Regions from separate parts of the Homo sapiens genome. Here region 1 is linked to region 2. The links are contacts of gene promoters, found by promoter capture Hi-C in blood cells and fetal thymus (Javierre and others, 2016). All regions are on one chromosome and are shown on one strand. The core of a region is centred on a gene start or on the middle of the fragment in contact, and the rest is flanking DNA. Distances in the headings are between cores, read along the strand shown.

Region 1 (6,963 bases), core at 1,575-4,074, 170 kb before region 2:
CTGCAATTCATAAAAGAAACATTAACTGATTCAGCATAAAACACTTCAAAATATATACATGAATATATAAACACACTTTCTGTTGCAAATTGTTCATTACTGAATCATTATCAACCCTTGTTAGACAAAATTTCTCATTTTTGCAATGTACAAAATCATTAAAGTATTTGAAAGCTCTATCACAGAAGACAGTGGTGCTTTATAATCCACTGTTTCTTCAGGCAAATGTGCTTATGGCTGAACATAATACTCAAAATAACAACATTCCCTAGATGTACAATCCCTCCCCCACTTAATGGTGTTTTTATATGTTGACAGCAACAGGAAATGTTACTGCTTTCCTATTAGTTTTAGCTGTTTCTGAACATTCATCATGCACAGCACCACTCTCAACTGTTACCTGTTGCGATGATTGGTTATCAACAGTTCCAAATGCTTCAAATACTACCATACACATCTCAGCAGAGCTTTAATAATTTAGGTTTTTCAGCCAGAAACTCCCTTAAATTAACAAACGGCCAGAAAAGTCAGTCTATCCACTGTAACTATATATTGCTATAAACCCACGTTTGGGTGTCAGTTCAATTACTTCAGCTCATATCAAGTTGAATTGCCTGTTGCTGTATAGAACTGCATTGTGATTTAAGAGGCATTCATTTCCAAAAGCAAGCTATTGTCGTGCAGATTGTTTACACTAAGGTACCTCATTTGATCATTTTTACTAAAAATAAAGGTAAGGAAGTGAAGTATATCAGATATTGCCAATGACCAGTGAATTTCTTTTGAACCTATCTACTTAATCATTTCAGGGTTCTGTCTCCTTCTTTTATGTATAAGTAAACATTTTTACATTAGGTAGTTAAAACTCACAAATAAAACGTATGGTCTGGGCCAGACATGGTGGCTCATGCCTATAATTGCAACATTTTGGGAGGCTGGGGCAGAAGGATCACTTGAGGCCAGGAGCTCAAAACCAGTCTGGTCAACATAGTGAGACCTCATCTCTACAAAACTAAAAATTAAAAAATTAGCTGGTGTTGTGCTAAGGAAGGAGGACAGCTTGAGCTCAGGAGTTCAAGGCTGTAGTGAGTCATCATCATGCGACCGCACTCTAGCTTGGGTGACAAAGTGAGACCCTGTCTCAAAAATAAGAAAAGAAAATGTATGGTTTGTATATCTGCATCTGATACAAAGTAGTACCTAAACAACGTAGTTCACATGAATGCAGATTTTTTTCATTTGAATTAAGAGATCAATCTACTTACAAATATTTATTTACTTCAAGACTTTTTTTAGATGTTGATTTTATACATAGGGTATGGATGACTATTGAACGTATTCTAATAATTATCTGAAAACTAAAGAAACCAACAAGCACATGCTCGTAATTGCTCCAACTGAGAAAATGTTACCTCAAAGTGAATTACAGATATATTGTTAGTCAACATCTGCTCAGAGCAACTGACTGACATGCATACCTCTTAGGATTCATTTAATTTCCACACTTGTCCCGTACAAAATTTTAATCGTCACCTTGGTACAAAGCTGTACTAATGATGAAATTCCATTGGGCCTAAAAGTCATCTCTATGAGTGAAGAATAAAGGTAAGAACATAAATACAAAAAGAGCAATTTCTGATTTTTCACAGTTCAGAGTTATATTCTCAATTAAGAAAGCTTAGTTTAATCCAAAATTACAAAAACACGGACTTTTACTTGCCCTACTACACTTAATATAAATTAAATCCTACTTGGGGAAAAGTTGTACTCCGAAAGGAAATAATTTGGAGTGTTATATCGATTTTACTTTGATGGCAAGCTCAATTGAAAATTTAAAAAATAAATTAGAAAGTTTTCCCTAGCCAAATAATTTATTGTAAACCTAACTCTGATTTTTTTATCTGGAATGATAATACATATAATACCATGATTTTCTATGTGCATTTATTTACGCTGAAACAAATTGTGATTTTAAACACAAGTTTTATTGCTTGTGTCAGTTTTTTCACTCTTCTGTCATACTCTAATGGTTCTTCTGGCTTCAAACTGTCAACCGCCTTCGGCAAAATCCACACTAGACTATCAGATTCTGTCTCCTCGACACTATAGAGAATAAGGGAAACAAAGACTGTGCAAAGCAAATCATTTTAAATAAATTGCAGACCACCAGGATTTGGGATTTGGGTAATCTACTCAGATTAGTATGGCTGTGTCTTAAAAGGACGATTCTAAGATCACAATATAGGTCATGTCCTTAAGAAATAAAGTAAGTAATGAAATCAATGTCAATTACACAAACTTTCCATATTTATATGATGCCATAACTGGTAAAAACAGTTATAACTGGTAAAACAGATAAAAGTTTTTGTAATATTTTCAGCCCCAGCATAAGCAAGAAAAAAAATCATAAAACATACAGATTATTTTCAATCAGGTTTTGCAAAAGGGTAAAATATTTACACAAAAAAAAATGGTATTCAAACTGAAAAAAACAAGCTTGGGTTTATAATTTTAGACTGAACAACTTTAAACTTTCATTTGAGACAGAGAAGGAGAAAGGAAAGGAGGGGTGTTTTGCAGAGCATGATTAACCACAAAGGTTTTGCCTAAACATAAAAATCAAGTTTAGATGGTAGTGCATACCCTTCTTGAAAGTGCAACTTCACTTCTTCAAACCAAAACTTCAAAAAAGTCCTAGTATGAAGCCAAGTGCTTAAAACAATGCTGCAATATCTAAATATACTATGTTTTAATCAAATTGTGCCAGGAGAAATATTGTCCAATGCAAGTAAAGTCTGCCTAAAATCACTGCTATGTCACATTTTTAATTACAACATAATACAACTGTTAAGAGAAATAGTAACATCACAAATGCCCCTAAAACAATACTTCTCTGCCCCAGAAAACATGTAATGCTTGAGGTCACAAAGACATTGCCAAAACTGACAATCAAAACACTGCCACTTCTTTTTTTGACACCAAAACAATAATGCTTTAAGAGTAGACCCCAAATTTTCTGGACATTTGATCCTCAAGCTGTGCTGAACAAGAAAAGCCCTAGATGCCCCTAGAAACTCAAGAACTTTCTTCTAGATACTTACCTGTCCCTCCTGGACAAAGGGATAAAAAATGTCTCTGACCAAAGAAGCTTTGAGAAGACTACTTGCAGAGAATTACCAACTTACCCATCAGATTTGAGTTCATGAAAGGTGTTGGGGACAAGCCTTCATGGGCTCCTAATCGACTGTCATTCAAGTGATCACTGTAATGAGGGCTGTCTGTAAAACCCTAGGGGGAGAAAAAGATCAGAGTATTAAAGAGATTATTTGGCAGTCCCGCTAATTGAGCATAATGACACTCACCTAATTAATATACAGACTTACACATGGTCATTTCTGACCAAGTTTCTTGTTCATTATTTGAAAAGCTAACAGCAGAAGTGCTTCTTTTATTCCTTTTAAGATTTTAAGTCAAAAAACATTTTCTTTATTGATCGTAAAGAAAAGTGGGTTTCTATAAATAAACACTAACCATGAGCACGAATGTTTTCAAAGTATCATCAGCTCTTCTGATGGGATGGGGAGCTATAAGAATTCTGTAAACTATTACTAAAATTACCTCTAAGATTACTTTACATCCAAAGGGAAAGTACAATGGATTTTTTAAAATAAATTAAGAAAATATATTTCTCAGTTGTAATAAATTAGGGAAATGCTTATCTTTATCCTCCTATTCACTCCCTGCCCCCAGACCCTAAAAATAAAGCGTTAGGCAATTACAAGTGACTTAAAATACTAAAACTAATTCACAATCAATATGCTAGAAATGAATCCTTTCCTAAATGGCAAATATTCAACAAAAAAGGTCTGTTTATACTCATTTTAATACTACTGTAGTAGAACAATATATACTCCTACAGAAACTGAGCCATGTAAAAAGTAAAACAATTATTAAACATAGCTGATTTAAATTCTTAAGAATGAAATTACAAACACCATTAAAAACAATAAAGCTAATGTTACTTTTCACAGTAGCTGTTATTACATTTCTCCTTATAGTTTAAAACATATTTTTTTAAAGCAAAGGGGAAAAAAGATAAAGTTTACAAACAAAAACAAGTGTTACAAAATTACTACGTGATGAAACCTGTCCTGGTTCTCAGACTTTTACGCACTCTTTAAGTACAGCATTACCTCCAAAATCATATTGTTTCTAAACAAGGCTTTGAACTCTATTAATTAAAACTGCAGGTCATATATATCTCTGCCAATCTAAAACCAACATGGTAAAGACCGGAAAAACGTATACGAAGCCCAAGTAAGAGAAAAAACTACCCTGGCTCACAGAAACCTGAAACCACCCAGAATCCCCGGGGACTAAAAAAATCATCAATCACTGAACATTTATCATTCCCCAGACTGCAGGCTACCATTTAAGAGGACATTAATGTGGCTGAAACAGGCCTCACTATCTTTGCAGGCATGCTGTCAGTTCAATGAAAGGGCTAGGAATAGAGGGCTAAATAACTGTCAAATCATTACAATTGTTTATAGATGCATGTCACAACTCCTTCTGCTGTTCTGTTTTAACACTAATCTTCTGGAGTGCTAACTCCCAAATAAATCTTTGTTTCATTTTTACATACTTCAGAATTACTGATAGACATGTGATAGATATTCAAGAAGAATCTGGGTGCCATTCACAACTTATGACCACAAGTGTTCTCTGGTAACTATAACCATAAGTCCTGTCTGATACAGCCACATTTAGTAGACCCTATATACACAATAGTATGGCTCTTAGCTAACGTCACTCCACAGAGCTTACCATTTTTTTGTTTTTGTTTTTGTTTTTGTTTTGGAGACAGGGCCCTCGCTCTGTTGCCCAGGCTGGAGTGCAGTGGCGTGATCACTGCTGACTAGCCTCAACCTCCCAGGCTCAAGTGATCCTCCCACCTCAGGCTCCCAGGAGTAGCTGGAACTACAGTAGTGCACCACCACACCCAATCAATTTTTAAAATTTTTTGAAGAGATGGGGTCTCACTATGTTGCCCAGGTTGGTCTCAAACTCGTGGGCTCAAGAGACCCTCCAGCCTTGGCCTCCCAAAGCGCTGGAATTACAGGCCTGAGCCACCATGCCTGGCCCATAGAATTTGCTTTTACTACTTAAAATGAATACTAAGGGACAAATCACTATCTCACGTACATCTGGGTGTTCTCTCTGCCACCCTTCCCACTGCCATTCTTAGGCACACAGTCAAAGGAAGGCATCAAAACCTATAAAAATACTCACTTAAATATTGTTTGTCATCCTACAGCAATACTACTGTAGAAAAATGCCAATTAAAATGTGCTTGCGGAACAGCTACATTGTTCACGCTACACATTTGAATGCTAAAGGCAAATGAAAGAGCAATTTTGTATCCTCCCAGTTCTCTTCATTCTTGAACAACAAAAAGTAAAAACACTACAGTTAAAAAAAAAAAAAAAAAACTATTTCCTAAAGCACCACTATACAAATATATCTAAGTTTGAAATGTATTTATGGTGTTGCTAAATGACTACACACAATTTATTAACTTTATAGATTAGATTACATGTAGTGTCTTTTACCCTGCTAACCTAACTTTTTTGCTGTTCCCACTGCTAATGACTGGGATTTTCACAGTGCACCAGAAAATAGGAGCCTATAGACTTTTTTCCTCAAATACAAGCAAGAGTTGGATATGAATCCTCAATACCTATTTACTGAGATTATATGCATATACTATTAATCCACATATCAAGTATCAGTAAGGCACAATTTCTCTGATTTAAGGATGAAAATTAGATATTTTCCCCAACACCTTAGAGGTTCAATTTAGCAAATGGAACTTTGTTTAAAAGCCACTGTCCAAGAGACAAGAAAGGAATAATAGTTCTTCATCTACAGGTGCAAACTGATGCTGGGAGAAGGGACAAATAGAGTTGCAAAATGTTTGTCACAGTTTTACATCGCATACAACTGTACACCAAAACTTCACTTCAAGGACTGGGGGTAGCTACTGTTTGGGATTATTCCTGTCATTCCTTTCACACAGTAGTAGTAATACCCACCCATAGTATAACTTTTGGTGAAACAAGATGAATAGTTATGAAATAATTCACAAATATTTAAATACGATTATCACAAGTCATATGTTTAAAATCAGTTGTAGAAATGTACAACTATTAGCACGTCAATGTATCATCTAGTTGACCGATACCTACAGCAATGCTTTGTAGACTTCAATGTTCTTATCAAACGAGTAGAGATCTTGCTAAAATGCAGATTAAGATGCATAAGGTCTTGGGGGTAGAACTTAAGATTCTGAATTTCTAACAAATAGGTGATGCTGATGCTGCTGGCTTATCAACTACACTACTAGTAGCAAGAACTTACACAACTTGGAATAAAGATCTTTTTCATAAACACAGAGTAAAAAGGTCTAGAAAGGTGACAGCCAGGCACCCCCCACTGAAACCATATTAAAACACCAGAAATTTCCAGATAAGAATAAATTAGGGAGAAACCCCACAGTTTAAAGAAAAAAAAAAAAAAACTAAAGCAATTAGAATAGCAAAATATTTTTATGTATGTATGTAATCATCCATGTAGTTTTAAAAGTAGAAGGTAGCTTAGCTGTCAAATATAGCCCCAATGAAAGAAATAGGTTAGTTGACTAGGAGTTTAAACTTCTTCTGAAATACCACATAGAGTTAGGCAACAAGCATGGCTGCTCATAGAGCAAAAGGGGAAAATGTCATAAACCAGAGCACTCACGGGGCTGACAGAATAGCAGAGAACAAAGCAAAATAATGTAGTAACTTCCAACAGGCTGGAGAACATAGGTTGAAGGTAAATGGCCTAAGGGAGTGGTTGCAGTGACAAGAAAAGAACAAAAACCAAGCAAACAATGGTTAAGTTGGAGCCCGAGTGGATCAA
Region 2 (6,578 bases), core at 116-2,615:
GCCATGGAAAGCTCTCATACCGCACTGAAGTCCAGTAGGTCGCTCAGCTCCTTGTCGGTCCCTATAGCGGCCATGCGTTGTTGCTGGGGATTCATCTTCGGCCACTTCTAGCAGGTCCTAGGGCAGAGGAAACGGGCTCAGCGAGAGACCACCGAGGCCCAAAGTGTGTGAGGGAACAGAGAGAGGTACTGGGGAAGATTACGCAAGAGCGCTGGGGGCGCCGGGATGACTTCCAGGACCCCGACTCGCTCCCACCGCGGCGCGAGCAAGGGGCGGGAGGGCTCAGTGCCCGCGCCGGGTCCCGGAATCCACGCGTTCCTCGCCGCGGCCCGAGATCGACGCGGCGGCTCCCGCAACTCGCCGCCTCTCCCCCAAGTTTCCGAGCCAGTCTCTGCCACCTCCTCGGCGCCCCCTGCTCCGCGCCGCCGCCGGGTGCTCCGCGCGCCGGGCCCGGCCGCGGCTGGGGTCTCGAGGAGCGGGGTGAGGGGCAATTCGGCGTCCAGCGAGCGGAGCGGCGGCGAGCGGAGATGCGAAGTGACTCACTCGCTCGGCAACAATAGAACTGACAAGTTGCAGGGAACGCGCCGCTCGCAGGCCCGCGTCTGCGGCCGCCGCCGCCCGGACGTCCCCGGCGGGCCCAGGAGGTCGGAAAGCACCCCCAGCTCATCCAAGGGGCGTTTTTAAACAGAAAACAGAAACCCCGACAACTAGTCTCGCTCTCGGCCGGCGTCCTCCTCCCCAGGCTCGGCCTCCTCCCACTTTTGCTGCCCTGCCCCGGACCTGCCGAACAATGAGCCTGGCTCCGCGGCCGAAGCCGCCCGATCTCCCGCGCGCCCCGGAGCCTGGGCGCCGGCCCGAGTCGGGCACCGAACGGGGCGCACAGGCCGAGCGCGCCGCCAGCGGGCCTGAGCGCCCGCGACTCGAGCCTCCGCCCCCACTCCGCTCCCCAACTTGGAGGGGACCCCGGGTTTCGCGCTGTACAAAGGGGCGCGGAGTTGAGGCGGGGGACGGGGGCGCCCCCACTCCGGCAGGGACGCGGCGGCGCCCCGCAGCCCCCAGCCCCGCCGCGCCGCCCCACTCCCGCTCGCTAGCCCGCAATTACCTGCCGCCCCGTCTCCGCATCCAACCACCCCGATTAAAGTTCACTTTGGCCGGGAGAACGGGCTTGGGCTTCCCCTTGCACCGCCCAGCGGCTCGGTTCACTTTGCCCCGCACGAGCTCTCGGGTCTGGGAGGGGGAGGCGGCTTTCGGGCCTGGCCGCCCCTTCCTCCCGGGGCGGGCTGTCGGTCCCCCCGAATAGAACTTGTGGGTCTCTTCAGGCGGACATTTTTTTCGCTGAGGCGGCCTCACCACCGCGCTCGGCTCGCCTCCGGATCCCTCCGCGCCGGGAAGAGCCGCGGGTTAACCCTTCCCTCCCCGACCCGCTCCGCCGCCTAGGAAGTGGGGCCGGCAGAGGGGGCGGGGAGGAGCTGTCGGGGACTGGGAGGAGCCGCACCGCGGCGGGTGGACAAAGCCCGCGGTCGGGTGAGGCGGGACGGAGTTGGGGCCGGTGGGGAGGGGCATGAGGCGCTCGCAGGCACCTCGAGAAGCAGGCCCCGACCGCTCGCCGACGAAGCCTCGTCCGGGCCTCCTGGGAGCGGGGTGGCAGGTACCGTGGCGCCTCCTCGCGTTGGTCTTGCTGGTTCTCGGCCCCCGAAGCGGAGCGACGGAGACACAGCTGTGGAAGCATCTGGATCCGCTGCCCAGGTCCCCGAGCTTCCCGGAACCCGAGGCCGCAGGACACTGAAGGCTGCCATTCCCGAGTAGGTCACGCTGGACGCCACCCTAAGCTGGGCCCAGAGGCTCCCGTCCAGGAGGGCTGCAGTCGGCGCAGACACCGCGCGTGTGGAGACGGGAGACCCATCCTCCTCGGCCGTTCCGAGAGTAGGCGCGGCCGGTCAGATTCGATGCAGAGCCGAATGCGGGAGAAAGGGCAAAACGTACCTCAAACCAGACAAAGCCTTGTGAGCTTCAGGTTCTCAAATACCCCACTCACCCAGACCCCACATCTCCAGTCAGCCCCTCGCACCCAAATCCCATTCGGAGCAACCGAACTGCACGTGGGACTAGTTCTTGGGAATGGATCAAGCCAGTCTCTTCATCTAACGGAGACAGCCCTGGGTGGCTCTGTCACACAGCCACTGTCTTGTGCACAAGTTCTGAACTTGGCCTCAGAGAAGCCCCAGAGTAGAAAGAAGACAAAATAAGCCCCAGTTCTTCGATTCTGGGCTGAAGTGAGATTTTCTTGAATGGCAGCCATTGTTTTGCCTCTTAGGTAAGTGAGTGCAGTAAAGACCGGTAAGGCCCACGCAGAAGAAACACTGAGGAAAGAAGACACTTCCAAAGTAACAAATGGGAGGAAGCAGCCAACGCCCGAGGACAACATGGCAAGAAGGAGCCTTTGGATTCCGGACTGGGATGGAAAGAGAGGTAGATTCAGCTACCATATGCCATTACTGTAGTTAGTACAGTTGTCTCTATATCCGTGGGATTGGTTCCCAGACTCTGGATTTTCTAAGATGTTCAAGTCTCTTACATAAAAATGGTGTGTTTCCCCATATACTTTAAATCATATCTAGATTACTTATAAAACCTAATACAATGCAAATGCTATGTGAATAGTTGTTAAGGTGTATTTAGGAAATAATCATCCAAAGAAATCTCTATATTTTCAGTACATTTTCAGGCTATATTTTAGGCTCTATATTTTCATGTATTTTCAGGCCTGGTAAGCCTAACTACATTTTTTGTTTTCAGTTGATTGAATCCCGGAATTTGGAAACCCCAGATACGGAGGGCGGACGGTACAACCGGAGCTGTCAGGTGGATTTCCAAGGCTTTGCATTGGCTGTACCTGAAACTTATGGTGGCCTAGACTCCCCAGTATCCACTCTTCCTTATCTTGGTAAACAAGCCCAGTTCTGAGTCACATCCCTGCTCTGCCTACTTACAGGGGCATGTGGTCCCAATCTAAGCAACGTAGCATAATTCCAACCTAAATCAGCAGAATCCCATTCCCTGCCACAGTTATTGGCTGGCAATGAGCGTAACATATTTGGGCCAATGAGAGGAGCAATTTCCTGGTCTTTGTTGGGAAAAGTTTTTCTTTCATTTTCTGAGAGCGCTTCAGAGGTAACCCATTCTTTCTGCATGTCCTCAAAAAAACGGGTCCCCTGGATGGTGGGTAGCCATCTTCCAAATACAAGTCTAGCCGGGTTAAAATAAAGAAGACATCAAGAAAACAAACATGCATAGAGATCTGATCTTTGGTGACTTTTTTTTTTTTTTTTTTTGAGATGTAGTCTGGCTCTGTCACCAGGCTGGAGTGTGGTGGCAGGATCTCGGCTCACTGCAACCTCCGCCTCCCAGGTTCAAGCGATTCTCCTGCCTCAGCCTCCCAAATAGCAGGGATTACAGGTGCGCGCCACCATGCCCAACTAATTTTTTATTTTTTTAGTAGAGTCGTGGTTTCACCATGTTGGCCAGGCTGGTCTGGAATTCCTGACCTCAAGTGATCTGCCCTCCTCAGGCTCCCAAAGGGCTGGGATTACAGGCGTGAGCCACCGTGCCTGGCTTTGGTGACATTTTTGAGGCTCTGAATCAAGCAACTTCTGAATTCAGGTCTATCTTCACTGATTAGACCAATAGGATTCGAATTTTCTGTTGTCTGTAATCTAGTGTGGTCTACACAGTACCACCCCAATGACCATTTTTTTAGTAGCAAAGACATAAACGTCAGGTAGGAAGTCTGATTAGATCATTTTTAAGGCCCCATTCCCATGTGTTTTAGTTCATTTTCTCCTACTGCTAACAGAATACCATAGACTGAGTGATTTATAAAGAAGTTTATTTGGCTCATGGTTCTGGAGCCCGGTAAGTCCAAGAGCATGGCACTGGCATCTTTAGAGGGCCTTCTTGCCGTGTTATCCCGTGGCAAGTGAGCACACACAATAGAGAGTAATCCATTCATGAGGGCTCTACCCTCTTAGAAGTTTCTCTTAAAGGTCTCACTTCTCAACACTTTTGCATTGGGGGTTAAGTTGTCAACACATGAACTTTGGGAGACACATTGAAACCATAGCACTGTGATAAGATTCTATGACTCCACAGTAAAACTGGAAAGAAATCTTGCAGAAGGAGAAGGTATGTGATCCCACATGTTGGATTCATGCTGTTTTCAAGATTCTCTTCTCATCCTGCTCACACAACTAGTGCAGAGGAAGAATATCTGTCTGCCCAAACCTTCAGTCATAGGGGCTCCCTCATTACTTAGGGACTGATTGGTGAAGTTTTTCATATCTATTATGGCCCGTATAGTTTTACTTTATAATTTATTTTCCTTATTAGATTGTGAACCCCTTGAGGGTTCGGACTGACATGCATCTGTCAGTACCATGCACCTAACGTAGTGCCAAGAGCATAGTAGACCCAAAAAGGAGGAGCTGGAATTAAAGCTATCATTCATTTGACATTATAACATGAAGTTATTTTTCATAATATAGCCTTTGCTTGTGTCATTTTTAATAAGAGAAAATGATTCCCACCAGTGAATCTCCTATAATAGCTCTGACTTATATAGAAGACAAAAAGAATATAAAAAGTGGAGTTTTGTATCACTTATAACTCATTTCTGGGCCTTTGCTGACACATCTAGATAGGGCCAGAAGCCTTTATTGAAAAGCTCAGAGAGAAACAACTAAGTAATACAAATTCAGTGTTAATTAATAGTACTATTTGTGTAGTATAAGTTAATCCCTATCGATAAGTTAATATTGAAAAGTATTTAATGTGCATTTCTCACATGCCGGGCATGGTGTTAAATGTTTCAGGACAGAAAGTCTAAAACCCATACTGCCCTCAAGAAAGTTATAATCTAATAGATTTTTTTTTTTGAGACAGAGTCTCACTCTATTGCTCAGATTAAAGTGCTGTGGCACAATCTCAGCTCACTGCACGTTTGCCTCCTGGGATTAGGTGATCCTCCCACCTCAGCCTCTGAAATACCTGAGACTACAGGTGCATGCCACCACGCCTGGCTAATTTTTAAATTTTTCTTCATAGAGACAAGGTATCACTATATAGCCCAGGCTGGTCTCAAACTCCTGTGCTCAAGTGCTCCTCTCACCTCAAGCCTCCCAAAGTGCTGGGATTATAGGCATGAGCCACGATGCCCAGCAATCTAATAGAGCTTAGTTCACTGTCCATTCACTGTAATCCACTACTGGACAGACACAGGAATTCTGTCAACATGGTTTCAGCCTCCCCACACACACAACACACACACTTCATCCTTGAACACACATGCATATTTTATGGGACACCAGAGTTGCCCAGAGAAACCTTTATAGTCAAAAGGAAAAGTAGCTAAAGCAATGGGCTTTTTGCTTCCTTGGCAGATTGACTTAACCTTGGACCCTTTTTAGAAGACAAGTATTCTAGGAAGCTAAGAGGAGAAGGAGAGAGAGAAGAGAATCAAGTCAGGTGTTTAGCGGGGGTAGTAAATTACTCTCCGGATGAAGTGACTGGCCTCCTAACGTTATCCACTAAGATCCGAGGTTGACGGCTAGTAGACCGTATGGTAGCTTTCTGCTCTATAGGAGAATAACTGGCCAGGTGCAGTGGCTTATGCCCATAATCCCAGCACTTTGGGAGGCTGAGGCTGGCGGATTGCTTGAGCCCAGGAGTTTCAGACCAGCCTGGGCAATATGGAGAAACCCTGTCTCTACAAAAAATACAAAAAATAGCTGGGCATGGTCGCATGCGCCTGTAGTCTCAGTTACTTGGGAGGCTGAGGCAGGAGGATTGCTTGAGCCCGGGAGGCGGAGGCTGCAGTGAGCCAAGATTGCACCATTGCGCTCCAGCCTGGGCAATGGGAATGAAACTGTCTCAGAAAAGAGAAAAGGAGAATAACTGTCCCCTTGTGACTAACAGGGATAATTTATGTAACAGTGAGTTTAATAAGTATTATCCTCAGTTCATGGCACTACCATCATTGATGAACTAAAAGCCAAGACTTTTTACTCTCTCATGAGCCAAATTCTACTAATGACCAACCATCTACTCTCCGCATTCTTTTCCACCAGCCAGCAAGAACCTCCCACTGTTGTGGTATTTCCTGGTAGAGATTTCGTCTTTTCCCTCTGAATGTTGATAGATAAAAATAGTTCTCTACTCCTTGCCAATATCATTTTTATCCACTATTTAAGACACTTAGATGGCTTATATGAATGCTATATTCAGATATGAGGACATGCCCCCCCCAATTGTCACTCAATATCTTTTACACTCAGTATCTTTTTCCCCTTTAGAATCTCCTTTCATATTTTATAAAAACACACATTTACACCAAAATCGAGACAAATTCAGAGGCCAGGAAAGGAAAAAAACTGCTAAACAATCTAGAGCATCAAACTTGGAGAGATATTTCCATTTTTTTAACTTAGTAGAGTTAATCAGAAAAAATGAATTAATAACCTTTTTCCATATTTCTGTGTGTATCTTGGCACAGTGCCTAGCAAGTAGTAAATTGCTCAAAAAAC

The links. The method cuts DNA at HindIII sites, captures the fragments that hold promoters and counts their contacts. A CHiCAGO score of 5 or more calls a contact.
Region 1: a fragment that was not itself captured here is called in contact with the fragment with the promoter of TCF12 in region 2 in 7 of 17 cell types (fetal thymus, megakaryocytes, M1 macrophages and 4 more); the score reaches 6.9 in fetal thymus.

Annotation. Positions count from the first base shown.
Region 1 is chr15:57,088,114-57,095,076 of GRCh38, reverse strand. It overlaps TCF12 (transcription factor 12), which reads right to left. Exons shown (of 21, transcript NM_207037.2): 5 at 3,186-3,288. Among named protein-coding and RNA genes, the nearest start is that of TCF12, 170 kb to the right of the region's middle. The HindIII fragment of the contact is 652 bases long and covers 2,499-3,150 here.
Region 2 is chr15:56,913,431-56,920,008 of GRCh38, reverse strand. It overlaps TCF12 (transcription factor 12), which reads right to left and starts at 1,365. Exons shown (of 21, transcript NM_207037.2): 1 at 1,103-1,365; 2 at 21-117. The coding sequence starts at 95. It overlaps TCF12-DT (TCF12 divergent transcript), which reads left to right and starts at 1,510. Exons shown (of 4, transcript NR_015419.2): 1 at 1,510-2,469; 2 at 2,797-2,944. RefSeq lists silencers at 326-765, 816-1,105, 1,196-1,245, 1,416-1,545, 2,066-2,205. The HindIII fragment of the contact is 11,533 bases long and covers 1-6,578 here.